3 separate regions of the Homo sapiens genome follow, and regions 1 and 3 are each linked to region 2. Evidence: promoter capture Hi-C in human tissues and cell types (Jung and others, 2019). All regions are on one chromosome and are shown on one strand. Each heading gives the region's core, a stretch centred on a gene start or on the middle of the fragment in contact. The rest is flanking DNA. Distances are from core to core; before and after follow the strand shown. Region 1 has its middle 9.1 kb from the start of SEC11C. Region 2 holds the start of ZNF532 (zinc finger protein 532). Region 3 overlaps LMAN1 (lectin, mannose binding 1).

Evidence for each region. Contacts are between HindIII fragments. The study calls those that stand out against the background at their distance.
Region 1: a contact is called between a fragment that was not itself captured here and the fragment with the promoter of ZNF532 in region 2, in 1 of the 25 tissues and cell types used here (dorsolateral prefrontal cortex).
Region 3: a contact is called between a fragment that was not itself captured here and the fragment with the promoter of ZNF532 in region 2, in 1 of the 25 tissues and cell types used here (hippocampus).

The regions. Positions count from the first base shown.
Region 1 is chr18:59,129,313-59,132,334 of GRCh38, reverse strand. No RefSeq gene overlaps it. Among named protein-coding and RNA genes, the nearest start is that of SEC11C, 9.1 kb to the left of the region's middle. The HindIII fragment of the contact is 3,715 bases long and covers 1-3,022 here.
Region 2 is chr18:58,863,298-58,866,533 of GRCh38, reverse strand. It overlaps ZNF532 (zinc finger protein 532), which reads right to left and starts at 1,657. Exons shown (of 10, transcript NM_001375912.1): 1 at 1,149-1,657; 2 at 955-1,064. The HindIII fragment of the contact is 28,079 bases long and covers 1-3,236 here.
Region 3 is chr18:59,349,854-59,353,074 of GRCh38, reverse strand. The region is part of intron 5 of LMAN1 (lectin, mannose binding 1); the gene reads left to right. Among named protein-coding and RNA genes, the nearest start is that of LMAN1, 7.8 kb to the left of the region's middle. The HindIII fragment of the contact is 6,352 bases long and covers 1-3,221 here.

The sequences.
Region 1 (3,022 bases), core at 205-2,704, 270 kb before region 2:
AGCCCAGGGCTTTTATGAACCTCAGAGGGGAGGAAGTATTTGCTGATTGGTCCATGAGGAGCTATGGCCAGGCCTGGAAGAGGCACCACGAGTCCCTACTCTGGTCTGCAAGACTGGCAGTCCAGCCCCCAGCCTTCAGGCCCTGGCCTGAACCCTGCCATTCATGGCCCCAGGGCTCCACCCCAACCGCCCACTCTGAGAGCAGAGCCAGCACAGGGAGTGGAGAGAGGCCAGGCAGCAGGAGTAGACACCTCTGAGCCTGCAGGGGTTGGGGGGGGGGATTCCCAGGCCCCCCAGGGTGCAGGCTGGAGAGACGCCCAGGTCCTGCACCTCTGTGTGTTGCTATTCCAGATCTGTATTTGAGCAACACAGCCCCTGGCACTTGGTATACAGCTGTTGACTTAAATAATGCTTTTCTCCCTCATATCAATTTATAAGAACCACCAGAACCAAACCACCCAAACCACCAGCCACAGTTTGGGTGGCTGCAGCAACAGGCAGGGAGCTCCTTCCCCAATTCAGAAGAAGTAGGGCTCCCACCAGCTCCATGGGGTGTGCAGCCCCAGCCACACCTCTCTGCTACAGCTAGTGTGATGGCAGCCGCTGCCATCAATTCGATCTCTTAAATTCTGCATGCCTGGCAGCAAATACCATGCCTGGCAGGTAACAGGTGCTCAATTTTTTAAAAAACTGATACAATAAATAGTCTAATCAATTTCTTGCCTTTCAGCTCCAAATCCATCCTTCTTCATTCTGCTTTGTGATACTGGAAACATTTGTGCATTGTCAGCTGGACTAACTTTAAATATTGTTAAGCTTTCTCAGTAGATGGTGCTGGAAAGACACTAGAGGAGGAAGGGGCTTCTGTTTCTAGTTCCAGTGGCCTGTGGGACACCCAGGGGTACATGCTTTTCAGCAAGTTTTCCCAGTACCACTTAGAGTGGCTTACTAGCAAGTGTAACTTATACCTCAGGGGGTGGCTTCCCAGGGAGTCTCATCAGCACCAAAGTATGCAGTTTCCGCTTTGCCAGTCCCAGTCTGTCACAGCTCAGATAACTAATACTCAGTCAGGTAGTGTATACCTTAGCTTTTTTCCTAAGCTTTCCCAGTGGAACATGTAGTCATTTATAACAGTGACTATACACTGGGGAAAAGGAACTACACAGATATTTTGGGAATTAGCAGACATTGTCTCTGTATTGACTAACTCCTAGAGACCTCAGATGTGACTGTGCTCACAAGTCAAAGTGAAGGCTTATAGCAGTCAGGTGGCAGATTAAGCCTTAGCCCAAATCTGATTCACAGTGGGACCAACTGGTCTATGCTCCCTTTCCCTCAATTGTTTTTTCCTCACCTCTTGGATGTATATTTGGAATTGATATACTTGTCACTCTCAGAATCCCCAAGTTCTTTCTCTGACCCATAGGTAAGGGCCATTATGGTAGGAGGGACTAAGTAGAAGTCCATAGAAAGTTCCCTCTTCACCAAGATAGTAAACCAGAAGCAATACTGCATCCCTGGGGGTGGAGGGGCAGGGAATTGCAGAAATCACAGCCACTATTAATGGACAAAATGATACAGAGTTTGTGATATCCATCACATTCCCACTTAACTCACCTGTTTGGCCTGTACAGAATATGGGTAAATGTTAGAGAATGGCTATGGATTATTATAAACTTAATCAAATGGTCATTCTAATTGTGTTGCTATTCCAGATCTGTATTTGAGCAACACAGCCCCTGGCACTTGGTATGCAGCTGTTGACTTAAATAATGCTTTTCCCCCTCATATCAATTTGTAAGAACCAGCAGAACCAATTTGCTTATACCTAGCAGGGCCAGTAGTACACCCACACAGTCTTATCTTGGGACTATGTCAACTTTCCTGCCATCTGCTACAATATAGTTACAGAAATCTTTATCATCTTGACACTCTGAAAAACATCACATTCTTCTACTACATTGATAAAATTATACTGATTGGAGCTGATGAATTGGAACTAGAAAGTGCACTAGATGCCTTAGTAAGAAATATGCAAACTAGAAGGCGTGAGAAAAAAAACACACAAAAATTTCACATCTGCCATCTTAGTGACGTTTCTGGTGGTTCAATGGTCTGGATAATGTTGAGGCGTTACTTCCGAGGTGAAAGATGAGTTGTTACATCTCTAAACAACTACTGCAAGTAAAGATGCACAACAGTTGGTAGGTCTTTTTGGAATCTGGAGACAACCTAGACCACTTTGAGTGTGTTACTTTAACCCATCTGTGACTCATAGGCTGCCAGTGACCCATAAGGCTGCCAGCTTTAAGAGGGGAAAATAAAAAGTGAAGCCTCTGTTTTAAGAAAGGACCATAAAAAGAGAAGACTCTGCAGCAAATCCAGCTCCTGTGAAAGCTGCTGTACCACTTGGATCTCATTATCCAACAGATACAATAATAACTCAAAGTGTGGATGACAAATAAGAAAGCTATATGAAAACTCTAGCAGCTACCAAAGGAAAATTGCAGAGCAGATTTTTAGGATTTTGGAGGAAACCTATGCCCTCCTCTATAGATAACTCTTCTGTTTAAGAAACAGCTTCTGTATTGCCATTGGTCCTTGGAGGGACTGAAAATCCAAATGTGGGACCTCAGGTGACCATGCACCCCAAGCTTTTTATCATGTACTGAGTATTTTATGACCCACCTAGTCATTAGGATGGATGTATGTAGCAGCATTTGCCACCAAGTGGAAATGGTATATAAGAGACCAAGCTTAGGCAGATCCACAAGGAATGAATAATTTGAATAAGCAGGTGGCTCAGACTCCTTCAATACTACTGCATTGCGTCCTTTCCAGTCCATACCTTCAGTCCCCTTCTGGGAATTTTCCCATCTGCAGTTAACTGATAAAGAAAAACCTCAAGCCTGGTTTACAATAGGGTCTGCATGATATGCTGGTACCACCTGAAAGTGGACAGTTGTGCCACCTAACAGCCCCACATAGAGGTGATTCCAAAGGACACCTGAAGGAAAAACAT
Region 2 (3,236 bases), core at 408-2,907:
CAGCAGAAAGGCAGGACCAGTTCTATCTGTTGTTGAGATCACACTGGATCCCATTCTGGAGCTGCTGGTTTCCTGTTTGGGGAAGTTGCAGTTCTTTTCACAAGGAACCCAAGGCAAAATGTTGAGTGTTCTCCTGCAAGCCCCCTCAGCCTTTGTTCTTCACTTTGCTACTCTCCTCACTCCTTCCTTCTCTCCTCTCCTCTCCAACCTCTGGTTTTGGAAGGTGCATTAAAATGCCTGCTCAAACCTAACTGCGATCTTTAAAGGCATCAGACATTTTCTACCACCCATTCCAGTACAGCTTTGAGTTAACAGGCATCTTTTCACAGATGAAGCCAGACTACCCGGCTTCCCCCTGGTATTGCATTAGTATTCCACATTAAACATATGCCACAAAGAATCCAATGGCGAACTCACCGTCAACAGCCCCCAAAATCAATAAAAGACATTCCACCACTTGAGTCGGAGTGAAAAACCTTTCAGGTTAACACAAGAGAGCAAGGTAAAAGAAAGGTGATGAATGAACAAAAGGCAAATCTACCTTCAGACTCCTCAAATCCTAAAAAGGTGGCTAGGCTGCCTCGATTTGGTGAAGCCCTTCCTTTTCTTATAATCATCGGGAAAATGCCACATGTGTACTGCTTTCGTCTTATGCAAAACAGCACATTCTCCACAAGGCCCTGACGCCTACCATTCTCCACACTCGCTTCCTTCCAGGCCTGACTCTCCCAATTGCCCAGACACATGCGATTTAATGAAGGCATTCAGATTTCGCCTTGATCGCAATACCATCATAAAGTCACTCTAATCCCATTAAACTGGGATAACATTAAGAGCATTTCTTCTCCACTCTGAACCCAATTTTATCTCCTGGGTAGCAATCCACGGTCCGTCTGTGTCTAAATGGATCTGCAAATAAATATTTAAATTCATGCTCAAAACAGCGTATCTCACCTTGTGAACCTTGACCTTTTGGAAAGACTTTAGACCAATGTTCAGTTACTGTCACACGGCTGCATTCTCAGCAAATAGGAAAGGGTTAAAAGCAGCCCCAGTCAACAGGCCTACAAGGAAAAAAAAGACAGCATGTATGGCTAACAGCATCACTGGAATGCATTTATGTTCATTTCCTAGAACGATATTGTTACCTTTTGGCCTTCATAATAGTCAGAAGCATCCCCAACACCCTTTAGTAGCTTCTAAAAGAAAAAGCACAAGACAGAACATACCCTGCAAGAGAAAAAAAGCATGCAAAGTAGCATTCTCCAGCAACAAACAAACTACCATTACAAACCCCTCAGTTCATTTTGGTTTTGTTTTGTTATAAACACCGAGAAAGAGAGAGAGAGACTGCATCAACCAAGTGTCCCCACCCTAGCAAGGCACATTTTTTTCTCTAATAAGGGTCATAAATCTCAGCTCCTTGTCCATCCCTTAAGCAAAAGAAAAAGGCAGGAAAAGCCCAAGTAATCTCAGACCCTGCAAACCTGCACCTTTTTTTCCATCTTCTCTACCCAGAATCTTTTAGGGCTCCATTAGTCACGTACCAGTGCTGTGTGGTGTCTAAGTGTGCATTCACATACTGTGTAGGGATGGTACCTTCCTGCAAGCTCCTCTGCTTTTGGCTGCCATGAAGGGAGGAAGCTGCTATCCTACTGTAGTAGCTCAGTGACTGCATTGTGTTCAGGAGCTGATCTGCCTCAAACCAGTTTCAGCCGGTTCTGGTCACCCTACATAAAAAAGCTATGGCAACCCTCGCTGAGTTGCCAACAAGTCCCTGAAAATCATCAGCACAGGGGGGATCTCGCTGGGGTTTGCTCTTCCCTCTTAGGTCTTCCTGAGGAGGAGAAGGTCATCGTGTGTCCCCCCACCCCACGAGCACACAGCCTTGGAAATGCTCACCTCGCAAGCACCCCAGAGCCCCTCAGGGCCCATCCCCCCTCCCCTCCACCCCACAGCCCACCGCAGACACTGTTTCCCCCTCCTTCTCCTTCCCCCACTTACCTCCCACAACCTGGCTCAGATCTTTGTGTACGTGTGTGTCAGTGTGTGCTCTCTGTGTTGGTGGCTGACAAAGAGCCCCCAAGAAAGCGAGCTATGTGTGTCTGCTCACACGGGATGCGTCGGCTGCAGAGCCGGCCTGGCCTCCTAGCACAGTGGTGCTGGCTTGTTGACCAGGCTCCTCTCTGCTGTCACCCCCACCCCACCCAGCCCCCTCCTCCCTTCCGTCCCTCTCCTCTCTCTCCCAGCCCTGTCACCACCACCAGCAGCCCCCCAGTCTCCTCCTCCTCCTCCAACCTTCTCTTCTTTCAAGCACCTGGGGGGAGAAGTCCAAATCCCTTCACCTCGGGGGAAGAAAACTGGGGCTGTCTGGGGAGGGGGCGGGGGGCGAAGGCAGGGCCAGTGGGAGAGGGGGCACGGAGGCCTCTGGAAACGCATCTGTGCCCGGCCGGCGCCGGCGGGGGGAGTAGGAGAGCCGCGCTCACGTGGCCCCCGTCTCGTAACCTGCGGGGCCTAGCCCGGGCGGTTCCTCCTCGGCCCCCCAAGCCAGCTGGCGGGGCGCGAAGGCCGGCTGTCCCCAAGGCCAGGGTGGGACAGGCCACTGCGGGCAGGCCCAGGGGCCTGAGCCTCACGCGCTCACCCCGGCCCGCAGGAGTGGGCACGAGGGGCCGCACCCCGCCTCTGCCCGGCGCCCACCCGCGCCCCTGGGTCCGGCTGCCCTGCGCCCCTCGTTCGCCCCGGCCGCCTCCCGCCGCCCCGCACCCCCAGAGGCGCACACCCACCCCCTTCCCGGGGTTGGCCTTCGCGGCGGTCAAGCCCGGGCGTCTGGGCCGCAGCTCGGATGACCTTTGTTCAGCGCGGCGCCGCCGGCGGCTGCTGCTGTGGCTGCTGCTGCTGTCGTCGGAGCGGCGGCGGCGGCGGCTTCCATGTTACGGGCGTGTCATCTGCGTTCCCGCTGCCGGGGTCTGTGTGTGCGTGTGCGGTGGAGCGGCCTCGCCGCCGGGCCGGGCGGCGGCGGCGGCGGCGGCTCGGCCCGGGCGGCGAGCGAACAAAAGGGAGCGCGGGCGAGGGGGAGGGGGCGGCCGGTGGGGGAAGGGAGCTCCGGGACCGGGCGGCGGCAGCGCGAAGCCCCGCGGCCGGCGGGCGCCGACGCCCGGCCGCTGCGGAGCCCCGAGTCCGGCGGCGGCGAGAAGGCGCCCCGCGGACCTGCCAAGTCTCGCCCATACGGGGCCGCT
Region 3 (3,221 bases), core at 517-3,016, 490 kb before region 2:
AAGAGAACGGAGGTGGCTTCACAGCTCAGTGTAAGTGGTCATCTGTTGTAAACCCCTGATGGTATGTTTCCATTTAGTCAGTAAATGTTTAAGCCCCCTACTGTATAGCACATGTGAGAGATATATATATCTATAGATAGATAGATAGATAGGTAGATAGATAGATAGACGGATAATCTCCAAGCCTTCAGGATACAAATATGAGTAAGACAGATGGACTTTCTCCCCAGAGAGCTTATAGCCTAACAGAGGACACACAAATGTATCATTCCTATGCTGTGTGATAAATGCTGCGTTGCAGACACTATCAAGCGGTCCTGTGGTTAGAATCCTGTAACTGCCAGGTGGAGGTGGGGAAGGGCAGGAACATTTTCTCAGAGTTGAGCTGTGCCCTACAGGGAGATCAGGAAGTTCCTGGGAGTTGGGGGAAGAGGGTGTGTGTGTGTGCGAGTGAGTGGGTGTACTCCAAGCACAGAAAGCAGGCATAGGCCCTTGAGAGAGCTTGAAATATTTTGGAAAGGCATGTAGTTTGGTGTGGCTGGGAGATAGAAGAGATCAGTGAGCAGTGAGGTTGAAAGGGCAGTAACAGGCCTTGCACAGCTTCCTGTAGTTTAACCCATAAGAAGCTTTTAAAAATGTTTAAAGGGTTTTAAGCAGGAAGTGAAATTATCAGATTTGCAATTTAGAAAGATGACTTAGGTCCCAGTATTCTTAGTACCAGTTTTCTTGGGGTTAGGGGTGAACACAGTTGTTGAGTCAAGGAGAGTTCCTGAATATAGCCAATTGGACAGCTAATTGGTACTATTTACTAGCAAAGAAGCAGCACATTTGTTTGTGTTTTATCTGTTTGGGGGAGGAATGGGAAATCAGAGGGTTGGTAATGAGTTTAGTTGTAGGTAAATTGAGGTTAGCATAACATATAGGTGGAGATATCTAACTGGCAGTTATGATAACTAAGATCACTATGCATTGTAAACTTTGCTTTTTAAAGATGCCATTAATACCTGGTTATATAATACTTAAAAGTAAAAAAAATAGTGTATGAATTTTTCTTTCACCTAAATCATGAGCTAGACTTACACTCCTGGGTCTAAATCTCTGAGAAAGTTAGTTCTGTGGAAAACTGTATTGGCTTAGTCTTAATTCCAAGCTAATTTAGAGATCTTAGAATAGAGCAAGTGTCCAATGTATTATAATTAGCTTGGGTTTGAATTCCACTATAATTATTCACCCTGTACAGTTTCATTAGAGTCATCAGTAAGTCTTGCTTACCTGCATGTAGCAAAGCCCAGACATCAAGCATGGTGGGTGCAGACTGTCCGTGTGACCCAACACCGTGAGGCTGTGAGCCCTGGCAGCACTCCAAAACAATAGCCTTGCAAAACGTACTCCCCAGAAAGGGTTCCACAATTGATGAGATTGGTCACTACTCTGCATATTAGCACATTAAAGATTTCTTTATGAAGGATCCTTTATAAAGAAAGGATAAATAAACCTTTATTAGACCTCACATTTCCCAGACTGACTTAACTATGGAATTTTTTTTCACCTAATGTCTATGAGTGATCATGGAGCTAGTGTTTTCAGGTACACGTTTTGAAGAGACTGGCTGGACACGTGACTGCTACTTATTGGTTTTCACCTCTCTGTACATCTCAGTCTGGTAATAATTCCTTTTCTTTCTACTTGTTAAAGTCATACTTAGCTTTGAGCACACAAATTCAGATCCCTTTTCTATCAGATTTCCTAAACAGCTCATAATGATCTGTCTCTCCTAAACTCTTAGAGTATTTTTTTTTCTCTAATGCTTATTTGGCCTTGAGATATGTTGTACTGATTTGCTTATTAACTATATGTATATCTCTTCTTATCAATATGATTGTAAACTTCTCACAATAGGCATATCCTGTATTTCTCCTAGTTCCTAATATTGTGCCAATGTGAAGTGCTCAAGAAGTATTTATTTTCATGAGTACTTGCACCCTAGCTTGTCCCAGTTGTTTCCACATTGGAGGGAAAAACAAAGTAAGAGGAGGTTGAAAGCAATAAGTGCTGTTGGTGGGGGAAACACAGCCAAAGCAAGAGATCTTAAATATTGCAAGTGTAGTCTTTAACAATGGTTTGAAACCATAAGGTGAATAAGGAAGGTTATTGATGATCTCATAAAGAAGTAATAATCAGTGGACAGTTTGTACCTAGGCTTTCAGTTACAGTCCTTCCTAACATTCCTGCTAACTCACAGTACAATGAAATGTGTTACGTCCTTTAAAAAAAAATTGGGGCCGGGCGCGGTGGCTCACACATGTAATCCTAGCACTTTAGGAGGCCGAGGCGGGCGGATCACGAGGTCAGGAGATCAAGACCATCCTGGCTCACACGGTGAAACCCCGCCTCTACTAAAAATACAAAAAAATTAGCCAGGCTTTGTGGCGGGAGCCTGTAGTCTCCGCTACTCGGGAGGCTGAGGCAGGAGAATGGCGTGAACCCTGGAGGCAGAGTTTGCAGTGAGCCGAGATCACACCACTGCACTCCAGCCTGGGCGACAGAGCGAGACCCTGTCTCAAAAAATAAATAAATAAATAAAAATAATTGGAACTAGACAATGAAGACTCATGCTGGATTTTCAGTTTGTTAGAATTCAAGGAAAAAAATACTGAACAATTGGAGGATTTTAGTATTGTAATTTGAATGTAATAATCTACAGTCTTTTTAAGACTCAAAGGCAAATAACTTCCTGATTGTTGATTCTAATTTAAAAGGCTCTGTGGAGGAGGACCAGTTGTAAATGATGTAAAATGAAATAGGAATATTACTAATCACAGGAAACATATTAATATGAACCAAATGCTAAATGATCTTTTAAAATTAATTATTTTAAACTAATTTTTAGTTCACATGTTTCCATTCTACAGTATATAGAGAGTAACTCTTCATATTGACAGATTTTATTCTCTTGCTGAAAATTTGGACAGAATACCAGAACATTTTGCCTGTGTGACTGAATCTTAAGTCTCTGACAAAATTTTGACTCTAGAAGTAATGACTCAAGTTCCCTTACTCTGGTGCCTTGGGCCTTCTCCTGCAACCACCCTGAACCTCAGTGACTGTTGTTTAGGGTGGGACTCGTGAGAGGATTATTAGAAATGAAATGTATTGAAGAGGCTGAACCACTGCTTGACTGGGATAATGAGAAAAGCATTCATGTGTCAGGTGGATTCCTG